Linked DNA regions of Homo sapiens: region 2 is linked to region 1. Evidence: promoter capture Hi-C in 16 types of primary human blood cells and fetal thymus (Javierre and others, 2016). All regions are on one chromosome and are shown on one strand. The core of a region is centred on a gene start or on the middle of the fragment in contact, and the rest is flanking DNA. Distances in the headings are between cores, read along the strand shown. Region 1 holds the start of PIP4P1 (phosphatidylinositol-4,5-bisphosphate 4-phosphatase 1). Region 2 overlaps NDRG2 (NDRG family member 2).

Evidence for each region. Contacts are between HindIII fragments. The CHiCAGO score rates a contact against its expected background, and 5 or more counts as called.
Region 2: a fragment that was not itself captured here is called in contact with the fragment with the promoter of PIP4P1 in region 1 in 1 of 17 cell types (M1 macrophages); the score reaches 5.6 in M1 macrophages.

What each region holds. Positions count from the first base shown.
Region 1 is chr14:20,458,170-20,464,073 of GRCh38, forward strand. PIP4P1 (phosphatidylinositol-4,5-bisphosphate 4-phosphatase 1) reads right to left here and starts at 3,265. Exons shown (of 7, transcript NM_144568.4): 1 at 3,015-3,265; 2 at 2,486-2,676; 3 at 2,023-2,129; 4 at 1,459-1,564; 5 at 1,219-1,271; 6 at 1,037-1,127; 7 at 1-533. The coding sequence starts at 3,156. The coding sequence ends at 390. RefSeq lists enhancers at 2,585-3,551, 3,480-3,549, 3,552-4,517, 3,850-3,929 and silencers at 2,720-2,889, 2,950-3,359. The HindIII fragment of the contact is 6,669 bases long and covers 1-3,831 here.
Region 2 is chr14:21,011,440-21,017,626 of GRCh38, forward strand. NDRG2 (NDRG family member 2) reads right to left here. Exons shown (of 16, transcript NM_001320329.2): 16 at 5,333-6,187. The coding sequence ends at 6,157. Among named protein-coding and RNA genes, the nearest start is that of MIR6717, 8.9 kb to the right of the region's middle. The HindIII fragment of the contact is 1,061 bases long and covers 4,408-5,468 here.

The DNA of each region.
Region 1 (5,904 bases), core at 2,015-4,514:
TAATGGTGCACAAGAGGGAGGGGAACCCCCAGGGCTACCCACCCCCACCCTGCCCTGGAATGTGTAAGGGACAGGAATGGCTCTCAGGGAGCACACAGGAAGGACAAGGCTGGAACCGTCTTCAGGGCCCAGTTTTAAGGGCAACGTTTTGCCTACTTCACCCTAGACACAGCAACCCTTGGAGGAAAGCAGATGGTCAGCAGTGCTCTTATCTGCCCCTCCAAACCTAAGTGAGGGCCTGGTTCCTTCCTACCTCTCCCCAGGGAAAAGGAAGGCAGCTGCTTGGCTTCCTTCTAGAAGCCCCGGGAGCCTTTAACTACCCCAGCTCCCTTCGTAGTGTCACTGTCCCCACCAGGGAGGGGCCAGGCACAGTCTGTGGGTCATCAGGCTCAGGAGAAGTTCTGGACAGGGTGGCTGACCTTCATACAGGCCCAATAAAGAGCCCGGCCCAAACACAGCACAGCCAACAGGATGACAAATGCCCAGGCTGCATAGATGCCTCCATATCGCCGTGCATGCTTCCATGTGCCAAACTGATGAAGATAAGGAGGGAGAAGAAAAGAAAGATGGGGTTAATGTTGGTCTCCACTACCTCCTATTAGTTCTAAGAACAGTAATAACTCACGCTTCAGTCCTTGTTCCTTATCCACATGTAGCCACCCTCAGGGACCTTCTTAAAGGCAGAGCTGATCAGCTTCCTTCCCTTAGGCGTAACATACTCATCCCATCCCACACTGTATCTCAGTTTTTCTTAATATCTGACAACTGAGCCAGGTTTGAAAAATAGCAACTCTTAAATTAAGAATTTCACTGTCCTATCCTCATCCTACAGAGAAAGGAAGGCTGTTTTTCACTCTTGTAGTAGTAATAAAGTCTGTTTGATCAGCCACTTTGCACTTTAGCTCATCCATATCTTAAAACAAAACAAACTAGTCCCCCAAGTTTCTTCCACTTTTTTTTAGGGTAGCAGTTTCCCAAATCTTAGCCTATGGAGATGAGGCTGCAGAATGAAAGAGGTTGGGGCAAGGGTACTCACGGCAAGGCCAGTGGCAGTGACTGCCAAAAGCAAGCCAAGCAAGAAGCAGCAGATACATCTCTTACGTGGGTATCTGCGCCCAATAGATGACCTGTGGGGAGGCAAATAGAAATGGATGCTTTCTATGGCCTTGTAGTTTTTACTCCATACATCAATTACCAGCTCAATCCCTAATCACTTACACTTTCCTGCAGTGAGGACAACGTGCCAAAGTGCGGTCTGTGAACTCTGTCCACTATGGAGAAAGAAAACAAAAATAATAGCACAAGCAGGGTCTCCCTCAATGAGAACCTTGGGGTGGGGATGCAGAACATGTTCCCATAGGACAGACCTTTCAGGGGTCATTACCATTACTCTAAGAAATATACTCGAAATGACTCTTAGTCTCCTTTCCCCTCCCCTTCCCAATACCCCTTCCTCACCAGAAAAGTATTCTTGCAATGTCCACAGATAACCCTGACACCCATGGGTTGGGGTTCTGGACTCAGAGGTCCGGGATGCACAGGCCCCAGGTTGATGATTCTTTTGCTATACAAAAGAAAAAGACTTGTATTTTCAAACTTGTGTTTGAAAAATTTTTAATCCTAAAAATCTTCACAGTCCCTGTTCCACATCCCCCACTCCCTGTCTATTAAGTCACTCGACTTCTCTGTACTTAAGATACTCTGTCCCCCAACTGTATACCCTCAAGAATCCTTGAGAAAGAAAGAGCACTGTTTAAACTTCAGGTCCCCAATTCCCCTCCGACCTCAGGATAACACACCCAGTCCCCAAGGCTCTCTATTCTCCGAAACGACATCATTTCATCTCAATATTTTTATTGAGAAACGAGAAAGACAGCTATAACATTCCTGAGGCACATGCTTCAAAGCCTTTTCTCCTAAATAAACACTAGGCTCTCTCACCTTTACATTCTCTGTATACGCTCATCCTTTTTTGACTTTCCAGTTCCCCACTTAGGCCCTTCCCCACCTTATGCCTCTTACCAGTAGGGCCGAGGGCATGCAATCCGTTGGGATGTCACTTTGCAGATAAGGAGACAGTTACAGGGGCATCGAACATATTTTTTCCCTGGGGGTGCATTCTTGATTGGCTAGAGAATAATAGGGTCATCAGCAAGCAAACCTCTAATCCCAATCCCCTCCACTTCCCTCCAAAAACACTTTATGAGATCAGAAAAATAAGGTGCTAACCAGGAAGGAGAAATAAAAGAAAGACTATATCATGAGATTTGCAAATAGGAACTAGGCTAGGTGTAAAAGTGAGAGAAAGTGAACATTAGCTTTGGTGAGTGGCTTCTGGGGAAATGGCTGTGTGAGACACCTGGAACTGAAACCTGGGTATCATCAAAAGCACTTGGCTAATAGCCGGAAGGTCAGGGTCTAGAACCAAGACATCAGAAAGAGGATCCAGGAAACAGGGCCCATTTCATAGATATGTGTAACTCACGGTGGCTTCATTGCAGACACCACATTTGACTACATGCTGATGCATCTTGCCTTCCACGTTGATGAGAGATTGGCAGACTCGGCAGGTGATCATAGGGGCACTCCCACTGTCCGGGCTAGTTAAGGGTGAATAGGGGGGTGGGTCCTCCCCAGGCAACACGGCTGGATGCCCCTCGGGAAACGGGGGAAATGCTGGAGAGGAAGCAAATAGAAGGGCTGGGATCACTTACACCCCCACTGATGCTCCACGGTGGTAGGGAAGTCCTTCTGATCTTCAACCCTCTGACCAAGCTCGGAGGGCTTCTCATAATTGGCACTTCTATCAGGTTGCTCAGAACCCCCTTCCGTCCCTAGGCTGTGGTCGCGATTACGGAGGGAAGGAAGCCTCGCCCAGTCACAGGTGCAGCAGTCCCGCACCTGGCGACTGGGACCCGCCTCCGCCCTCGGTCCCGCCCCCTCCCCGGCTTTCAGAGTACCCCGGGGAGCACCTCGGACCCGCCCCGGCTTACCCTGGGGCGGGGCATGTTTACCGGCTCCGTACGGTGGTGCGGAGGGGGTCAGGCCTCCCCCGGGCCCAGCCCCACTCCCGCCGGGCCCCACTAAACCGTTGCCGCCCGCGCCACCGTCGATGGGCTCAGACAGCAGCGGGGAACGCTCTCCATCTGCCGCCATGGCCGCCACCGCCGCCTCCCGCTCAGGTCGGCGATCCGGCTCCCTTCGCCTCTGCCGTCGCCGCAGCCACCGCCACCGCCGCCACCGCCACCGCCGCTACCGGGTCCCCAGGGCGCCTGCGCGCCGCGCGCCCAGCTCACTCCGCAACCAGTGGCCTGCCCCGCCCCGTTCCGTCTAGCAGCACGTGATAGGCTATCCCCGCCCGGGTCATGCTATTATTCGCGTAGATAAACCAATTCCTGGTCCTGTGAAGGCAGCTCTCCTTTTCCATTGGGGAGCGACGCACAAACGTCAACTGTCACATGACCTGCCAGATGCTGCTGGGCTTGCAAAACCTGCACGTGACTAGAGGTTCTGCAAGCTATTGGGAGCGACGCCCATCGCGCTACCTCCAGACCAGGAGGTAGGGCTAGGCTGCGTCTGCTCAACTGGTCACGTGTTTCTGGAAGCTGCACGGTCCCTGTTGCTCTGCTCCTCATTGGTTCAAAGACACCACTAAAACACTTTTCTCCGGCTTTGCGTTGTAGCTGGTTTCCTATTGGCTGGTGACTTTACTTCTTTCGTCCTGTGATCCTAGCGGCGCAACTGCATTGGCCCGAACTTAGCGCCAGAACATGGGGGGCGTGGCTTATGCATTTTAAAGGAGGCTGGGCGGGTGCAATAAAGGAGTGCGGAAGCTTGGGATCTTCTGAGCGGGGAGAAAATGGACGGTGGGGAACAGTAGACAAAGTTAGCTGTTCTACTCAAAGAAGTACCTTTAAAAAGTCAGAGTAATGAGGTACCAGAAGGAAATGGATTAAAAAGTTAAGATTATCACTCCAGCCTTTGTCGCTAGAGTCACTTTCAGGACAGGACACAAGACTGGGTTTTCCTGGAAGCTGTCCTTACAGAGCCCCGTCTTTCCCCATTGCTGATCAAATTGTTAAATTATCTTTTCATTAGTGTCTCCACTACTAGAAGATTTCATCGTTTTACTAAAAAAAAAAAAAAAAAAATTCAATAGAGATGGGGTCTTGCCTATGCTGGACTCAAACTCCTGAGTTTGATCTCCTGCCTAAGCCTTCCCAGTAGCTGGGACTACAGGGACAAGCCACCGTGCCTTTACTCAGTTTTATGACCACCAACCTTTAACATACGCACAAGTTTGTAGATTGGATTAATCAAATACAAGGTTATTTTCGTCACCTTATTTGACAGATGGGACAGTCTTTAGGCCTGTCTCAACTTTGCTTCCAGCAAAGGGGCAGTGCCTCCTCCCCTACCTGAAGTCTCGTGTGGTCTTTATGGGCGCCTGAACCACACCTGGATTTTTTCCCAAGTCATAGCCCAAACTGGGACTGCTTTAAATATGGGAAGCAACAAGGAATTGATAAAAACAATAAACCCCGAGGAGGTCCATTATCAGTTTGGCTAGCAGACTCTCCACTAAGAAAGGAAGTGCATCAAAGAAAGTACAGCCAGCCCCAAATATGTAATAACAAAGGAACTGCAGATGTCCCAGCACTTGGCTGCTACAGGGGCTGGAGACTTCACCTAGGTCCTGATTTTTTTAGACAGGGTTTTCTCAGGCCAACTTCTACTTGGAAGCTAGTAACCTTCGACCAGTTAGATAAGAGCCCCTAACAGACACTTAAAGAACTAAGGAAGCTCCAGATACAAAATAGGGAAGAGGTTGTAGCTCCATAGAGGGAGGCCAGTCTGCTGCTTTTTCTGCTGTTTGTGGCACACAGATGCTCAAGCATTGTCTGGGGTTGGAGTAGGATCCATTATTTGCGCCCTAGTTACACATATATTCCAAAAACTGTCCTAAAAATATTTTTTAAATATCTACACTTTGTGAAAGACACTCCTTAAAAAAGCTTACACTCTGGGTAGGGAGACAGAATAGTGTAAACATTGACAGTATAACATATCAGGTCAGGAGTGGTGGCTCATGCCTGTAATCCCGGTGTTTTGGGAGGCTGAGGTGGAGGATTGCTTGAGCCCAGGAGTTCAAGGTTACAATGAGCCATGATCTAAACCTGGGCAACAGAGCAAGATCGTGTCTCAAAAAAAAAAAAAAAAAAAAGAAAATCAGCACTAGTATTTTATTACATGGAAAAATATCAATACTAGAAATTCATGATACAGCACATGCTTCATAATAAAAGAATTAAACAATGTAATTCAAGTTCAAGAAAAGAAGAGATCACTTCTAGCTAGAGCAGCCAGAGAAAACTTCTAAAACATAAAGAAAAATGAGTATTGTGCATGGATAACTAGGATCTGAGCTCTGTGTTGTTGAGTAGATCAATAGGCAGAAAAATGCAAAAAGTAATCATAATATTTGGAACTTGCTCACAGTTAATAAAGCATTTTTTTTTTTGAGACAGAGTCTCACTCTGTCGCCAGGCTGGAGTGCAGTGGTGTGATCTCTGCCCACCTCCCGGGATCAAGCGATTCTCCTGCCTCAGCCTCCCGAGTAGTTGGGATTACAAGTGTGTGCCACCACACCCAGCTAATTTTTGTATTTTTAGTAGAGATGGGGTTTCACCATGTTGGCCAGGATGGTCTCAATCACTTGAACTCGTGATTCACCCGCCTCGGCCTCCCAAAGTGCTGGGATTACAGGCGTGAGCCACTGTGCCCGGCCAATAAAGCACATTCATAGTTATATTCATTTTATTTCAGAACCCACTGTGATGTGGACAGGGAAGGCAAGACTATATCTTTATTTTACAGATGTGGAAACTGAGGCTGTGTAAACTG
Region 2 (6,187 bases), core at 3,688-6,187, 550 kb after region 1:
TTGGTGCATTGCAGCCAGGTAAGCCTCATGGGGCACAGAGCATAATACCCAGATGTAAAGGGGCAAGCAGGTGTTCCACATACCATCCATTCTCTGCTACTTTCAACTTGAGTGATCTTGCTAGGACTTTGGGAGGGGTGAATTGAAAGGTACAAATGTATGTGAAAGCTAGAGAGCTATTTCTAGTACAGAGGATTTGTATGGCTGCAGAAAGGAGACTTAAGGAGAAGTACATTAGACTGTTGGAGCTCCTCACCATGTTCTGGGTCTCTACCGGCATTTGAGGTAAATGAGGTAGAGCTTGGGATATGTCAGGCATAGGTGGATGAGTCCTGAACTTTCTGCCTCCTTCTATCCCAGGAGCCCTTGGATTCCTGCTTTAGTCTCCTCTGTCCTCAGCCATCAATGCTTTCTTTCCTTTCCATGGCTATTTCCTTTCCTTTTTCCAAAATTCTTACCAACCAGGAACAGAACCATCTTTAGTTTGAACCATATTGTTTCAAGAGCTAGAATAAAACTAGAGAATGGCTCATGTAGAGAATATCAGGGAGAACATCAGGACTAGGAAACTGAAATAACCTTTTGATTGTTTTCAGAAGATATGAATTCCCAGCAAGGAGCCAGAGAGGGTTATACGGAAGCAGAAGATGAATGTGATTTCTGAATGAGATTAAAACAAGAAAGGCTGGAATAAGAACAGGCATAAGAACCCTAGGACAGGAAGGAGAGCCGAGATGCCCAGGGCATGGTGACTGCAAACCTGATTCAGGAGTAAGCCTTGATTCACTCAGCCCTAAGAGATAGCTTATAACAAATGGTAACTAGAATGGTGAGAGCTGAAAAAATAAAAAAAGAAGGAAAAGGCGAGGCACAGTGGCACACGCCTGTAATCCCAGCACTTTGGGAGGCCAAGGCAGGCGTGTCGCTTGAGCTCAGGAGTTCAACACCAGCCCAGGCAATGTGGCAAAACCCCATCTCTACAAAAAAAAATAAAAAATATATATATACACACAAAAAATACAAAAAACTAGCTGGGTATGGTGGTGCACACCTGTAGTCCCAGCTACTTGGGAGGCTGAGGTGAGAGGATTGTTTGAGCCTGGGAGACGGAGGTTGCAATGAGCTGAGATTGCACCACTGCACTCCAGTCTGGGCAACAGAGTGAGGCTCTGTCTCCAAAAAAAAAAAATCAGAGGAAGGACGTGCAGGATGGGAAAAGGGATGAGGGAAAACCAATTGGAATAGTCAGGAGAGGATTTATGTAGAGCATTCTCAAGTCTCCCCAATCCCTGTCCTCTGTCCCTACCCCTCATTCTCCACTCCACACATGTACTTTGTATATACTTAAAGAGGAAGAATATAGAACAACGATACCTCCAACTGCCCTCCTAGAGCCAGCATTCCATTTCTGCCACCAGTACATTTTTCTCTAAAGTAACCCTTTGGAACTCATCTTTCCTTTGCTTTCAAGCTGAGGGTTTGATTTGAATATTGCAGTTGTAGGATGACAATGTGTAAAGAAAGAGAGATGGGGAATAGCATCAGAGAGAAACCAGAGTTTTGGGAGTAGTGTGGGAGGTCAGTCAGAGATCAACACACAAGGACAAGACACATCCAGGAACAAAAACCAAAGAGCTCCAGACAAACTCTTACAAGAGTTTGTGCCACTTCACCTCACCCTGAAGGACAATTTTAGAATGTCTTGCCACCCTCACTGCAAGAAACAGTCCCTTGCTCCTGCCTCTGGTCTGATAAGGTACAAGGAACAGCTGCCAGAGTGTGAGTGGGTTTGTATGTGTGAGTGTGACAACCAGCCAGACACCCTCACGTTCCCCCTGACTGACCTGAGCGGGGAGCCCATTGCCACTAGCAAGGGGGAAGCCAAAGAGGTGCAGAGAGGAATGACACCTGAAACCCCAGGCACCAGTGTGGGAATGCTTATAAAATGCTGGTTGTTGATTTTTAAAAATTTTAAATTGTGTTCTTTGTTACTGTCTTCACAGTTGTTGAATGTCAAGTACACAGGACATTCAACTTTTACTATGTATTTATCCAATTAGTGGGAAATTCTGATGTTAGTGAGGAGAGAGGGTACAAACAAATGACATTGCTCTGGGCACTATTTGCCCTCACCATACCCTGGCCTCTAGTCAGAACTGACTCTCACTTTCTAGTTAGTCCTAAAATTGCTCTAGAAAGGTGGTGTCTCCCAGCCAGGCACAGTGGCTCATGCCTGTAATCCCAGCACTTTGAGAGGCTGAGGCGGGCGGATCACTTGAACTCAGGAGTTTGAGACTAGCTTGGACAACATGGGGAAAACCTGTCTCTACCAAAAAAATAAATAAATACACACACACACACACATATATAGACACATATATTTACACTATATATACATATATACACATATATATACATAAATACACATCTATATATACACACACAAAAATATATATATTTATATATACACAAAAAGCTAGCTGGGCATGGTGGCGCACACCTGTGGTCCCAGCTACTCAGGAGGCTGAGATTGGAGAATTGCTTGAGCCCAGGAGGCAGATGTTGCACTGAGCAGAGATTGCACCACTGCACTCCAGCCTGGGTGACAGAGTGAGACCCTATCTGAAAAAAAACAAAGAGAAGAAAGAAGAAAAAGAAAAGAAAGAGATAAAGAGAGAAAGAAAGGAAGGAAGGAAGACAGAGAAAGAAAGAGAGAAGGAAAGAAAGAAGAAAAAGAAGGAAAGAAGAAAGAGAAAGAAAGAAAAAGAAAAGAAAGAAGAAAAAAAGAAAGAAGAAAGAAAGAAAGAAAGAAAGAAAGAAAGAAAGAAAGAAAGAAAGAAAGAAGGAAAGAAAGAAGAAAGAGAAGGAAAAAGAGGAAGGAAGGTGGTGTCTCCCACTCCAGTATTTTCCCTTACCATTCATATACTCTCTTATGGCTAACATCCATCCCTCCTACTGCAGGTTCAGTGTACCATCAGAGACTCACCCTTTAAAATCTCTTCGTGAAATCCAGAATTTTCAAGCTGAAACCATAAGGCTCTTTTCACTCTGTTCCGGTTTTACTCTCTTTCCCATTGAATCTTCTCTTAGCTGTCTTGGGATTTTGTCCCTAAAGTCTGGGAAGTACTCACGTTCCTTGACAATAAGGGGAAGAGAGAAACAGGGGTCCTAAACCTGAAGCAGAGACAAAAAGTAGGGAGTCTGTGGTTCTGCTTCTGTAAAATCACCTCTCCTCTCCTCTGAGAGGAGACCAGCTCTGATCTTGAAAATTTTGAAAATGGTCAAGATCAATGGCCAACCATGATATTAGGACCTCCTTCCTATAGAGCTACTACACAGAACCACAAAGCACAATGGAGCTGTAAGACCGAGGAAACACCAAGGGACCTGGGAACTGGGGAAAGTTATTAAGAACCATGTCAACCACAAGGGGGCACTGTGACCCCATGGGCTAAACTGGAATGTTTAGCTGATTGACATGGAAATGGGACATGGAATATGCTCTTGATTCTTGAGCTTTTCGTCGCTCTCCAACAGAGTAGAGAGGTCAGTCAAGGACAAAACCCCCACCCCACGACTAGCTCCCAGCAGAGGGCATCTTTCTCTCTACCAAACTCAGATTTCTTATGCAGAGACATCTATGGGAAAGACACACAGTCATCACCCATTTGACACACCCACCTACATGATAGATGTGTATGCACACACTCACCTATCTACACATACATGTAATGTGCTCCCATTTGTAGAGATTGCCCTGCTGACAGTGTTATCTATGTAGGCAGATATGCAGAAAAGACTTGCCTTCCCATCCATAATACACAACAGCAGCTATTGCCAGTAAAGATTGATGCTGGTTATAGGTTTTTGCCTTTTCCTTGTGTTTTTCCGAGAAGCTAGTTGGTCCCCACTGATTCCAATTATGCCGCTTCTTTTCTTCAGTGTGGTGCTTCGCACTCTGCTGCCTGCCCTGCGTGTGGTCACCCAACACCCTCAGCATCCAATAGCGAGCTCCATAACCCTGTTTGTTACCCAATACCTCCGCTTCCCCTTCTGACCCTGGCCTACCACATTTAAAATAGACCCAGTTCTATGAAGGACAGTGATGAAATGCTCAAGAATCAAGGGCATATTCCATATCCTATTTCCATGTCAATCAGTGTGTCAGCACCAGACATCAAGTGCATTAGTCCTCAGCTCAGTTTCATTGAGGAAAGGGTATAATTGCCTGTGGAGTTTCTGTAAAGCAATCTAGCAAAAGACCTTGTAATAGTCCATCACAGTAGTGTTGTCAATAATGCTACAAGGTGCCTCCTCATTTTTACTTCTTGTGCCTCAAGACCCTAAGAATCAGCCTGCAACAGCTGCAAAATAAGAATTCCTCTTCATTGTTCATAGTTGTGAAAAAGCTTCCTAATAAACCACAAACATAGACTTAATTAGCTCCCAGATCCCTTGGATTCCATGAGGGAAGAGGAATTCTCAAGATAAATCCTCCTTTTTGCTGCACCCCTCCTGAAAGAGTCTTCAGATCAGAATGAACTATGAGCAGCCCACCCCTTACAGTTAAGTTCATGCACCCTGGTCTACTGATTGCACTAAAACATCCAAAATGGAATCTAGGTGACCCCCTAGGGAGGATCCTACAGGAAGGTGGGTCTCAAGATATCCTTGGGCACTTCTGTCATCAGTCTTCTTCAATTTTTTTTTTTTTTTTTTTTGAGATGGAGTCTCACTCTGTCGCCCAGGCTGGAGTGCAGTGGTGTGACCGTGGCTCACTGCAACCTCCACCTCCTGGGCTCAAGTGATCCTCCCACCTCAGCCTCCCTAGTAGCTGGGACTACAGGTGTGCACCATCAAGCCCAGCTAATTTTTGTATTTTTTGCAGAGACGGGGTTTCACCATGTTCCCCAGGCTGGTCACAAACTTCTGAGCTCAAGTGGTCTGCCCACCTCAGCTTCTCAAGTGTGTTGGGATCACAGATGCGAGCCACCTTGCCCAGCCTCTTCAATTCTTTCTTAAAGGTGGTGATGTTGGTGGTATCTCTGAAATCCTGTGGCCTTTCTCAGTTACCCATAGTTGATAAGGAAGTCTCCTAAGATCTAAATGGTTCCTCTCTCCCAGGCTTAAAAATACTACAATATCAAGGCAACACCGTTGTATTGGAAAAGAGCCAGTTTCTATGTGGTCATATTTTGTGAAGTGCCTATGCCACAAAGGCCCTCTCCCAGGGTTTATATCACTTTGAGAAGAGAATATGAGACGTGGACAGGGAGAAGATAGGAAGAGGAGCATGATGCAGGCACACCTAGACAAAGAATAATAACGGTACTCAGATTCCTCTACAGTTTATTGTTATAGCAGAAGTTGTGGGAGACGGGAGGGCACCCTCCACACATACTACAGTGTGGTCAGAGCCCCAGGGTAGCCCTTTCCACCCTATGCCAAGCCCCAAGCAGCCCAGCCCAAGCTTAGCTCCCTCCCCAGTCCCACTCTAGATGCACACTGAGCTACCAAAGTTAGTGCAGCCAAACGGCCCCAGGCCCCTTCCTGTTGCCCCAGCACCAATCCTTCCCCACACTCGTTCACTGCCCGCCAACTCCCATTCCAACTTCCTTTTTACACTGGATGTTTCTATCACATCCTGAGGACCACTAACCCACCAGCAAGTCTCCCCCTGACACACATTCACGTAGGTCCATACCCTTCAGAGTCCTAAAGGGTTAATGAGAAGCCACCTCAGCTTTGGTGAATGGAGCCCCAGCCCCAAATCCCCTCCCCTTGCAAATATGGGACAAGTAGGGAGAGTCTGATGGAGGCACCAGGACAACTACAACAACCTCTTACCCCTCAGCTATAGACACCTAGATCAGGACAGAGGATGCATATGCCCTCTCCACCTTAACATCAAAATGGGGGAGGAGGAGAATTTAGGGGTCTGGGTCCCTAAGAGATATTAGGACATCTCTTCCAGGAGCTGGGGGGAATCACGGGTTAAAGGTCAAGGTTAGGGTAGCAATCAAAGATCAAGGTCATCTCCCCGCATGATCTGCCCTTTTTCCCTTGCTTACGGTGGCCCAATGCCCCTTCAGCACCTCCCAGGTTAGCTCTGGGGGAGGTGAGGGCTGGGTCCCACTCTAGGGCAACAAGGGCCATTCAACAGGAGACCTCCATGGTGTGCCCCGGG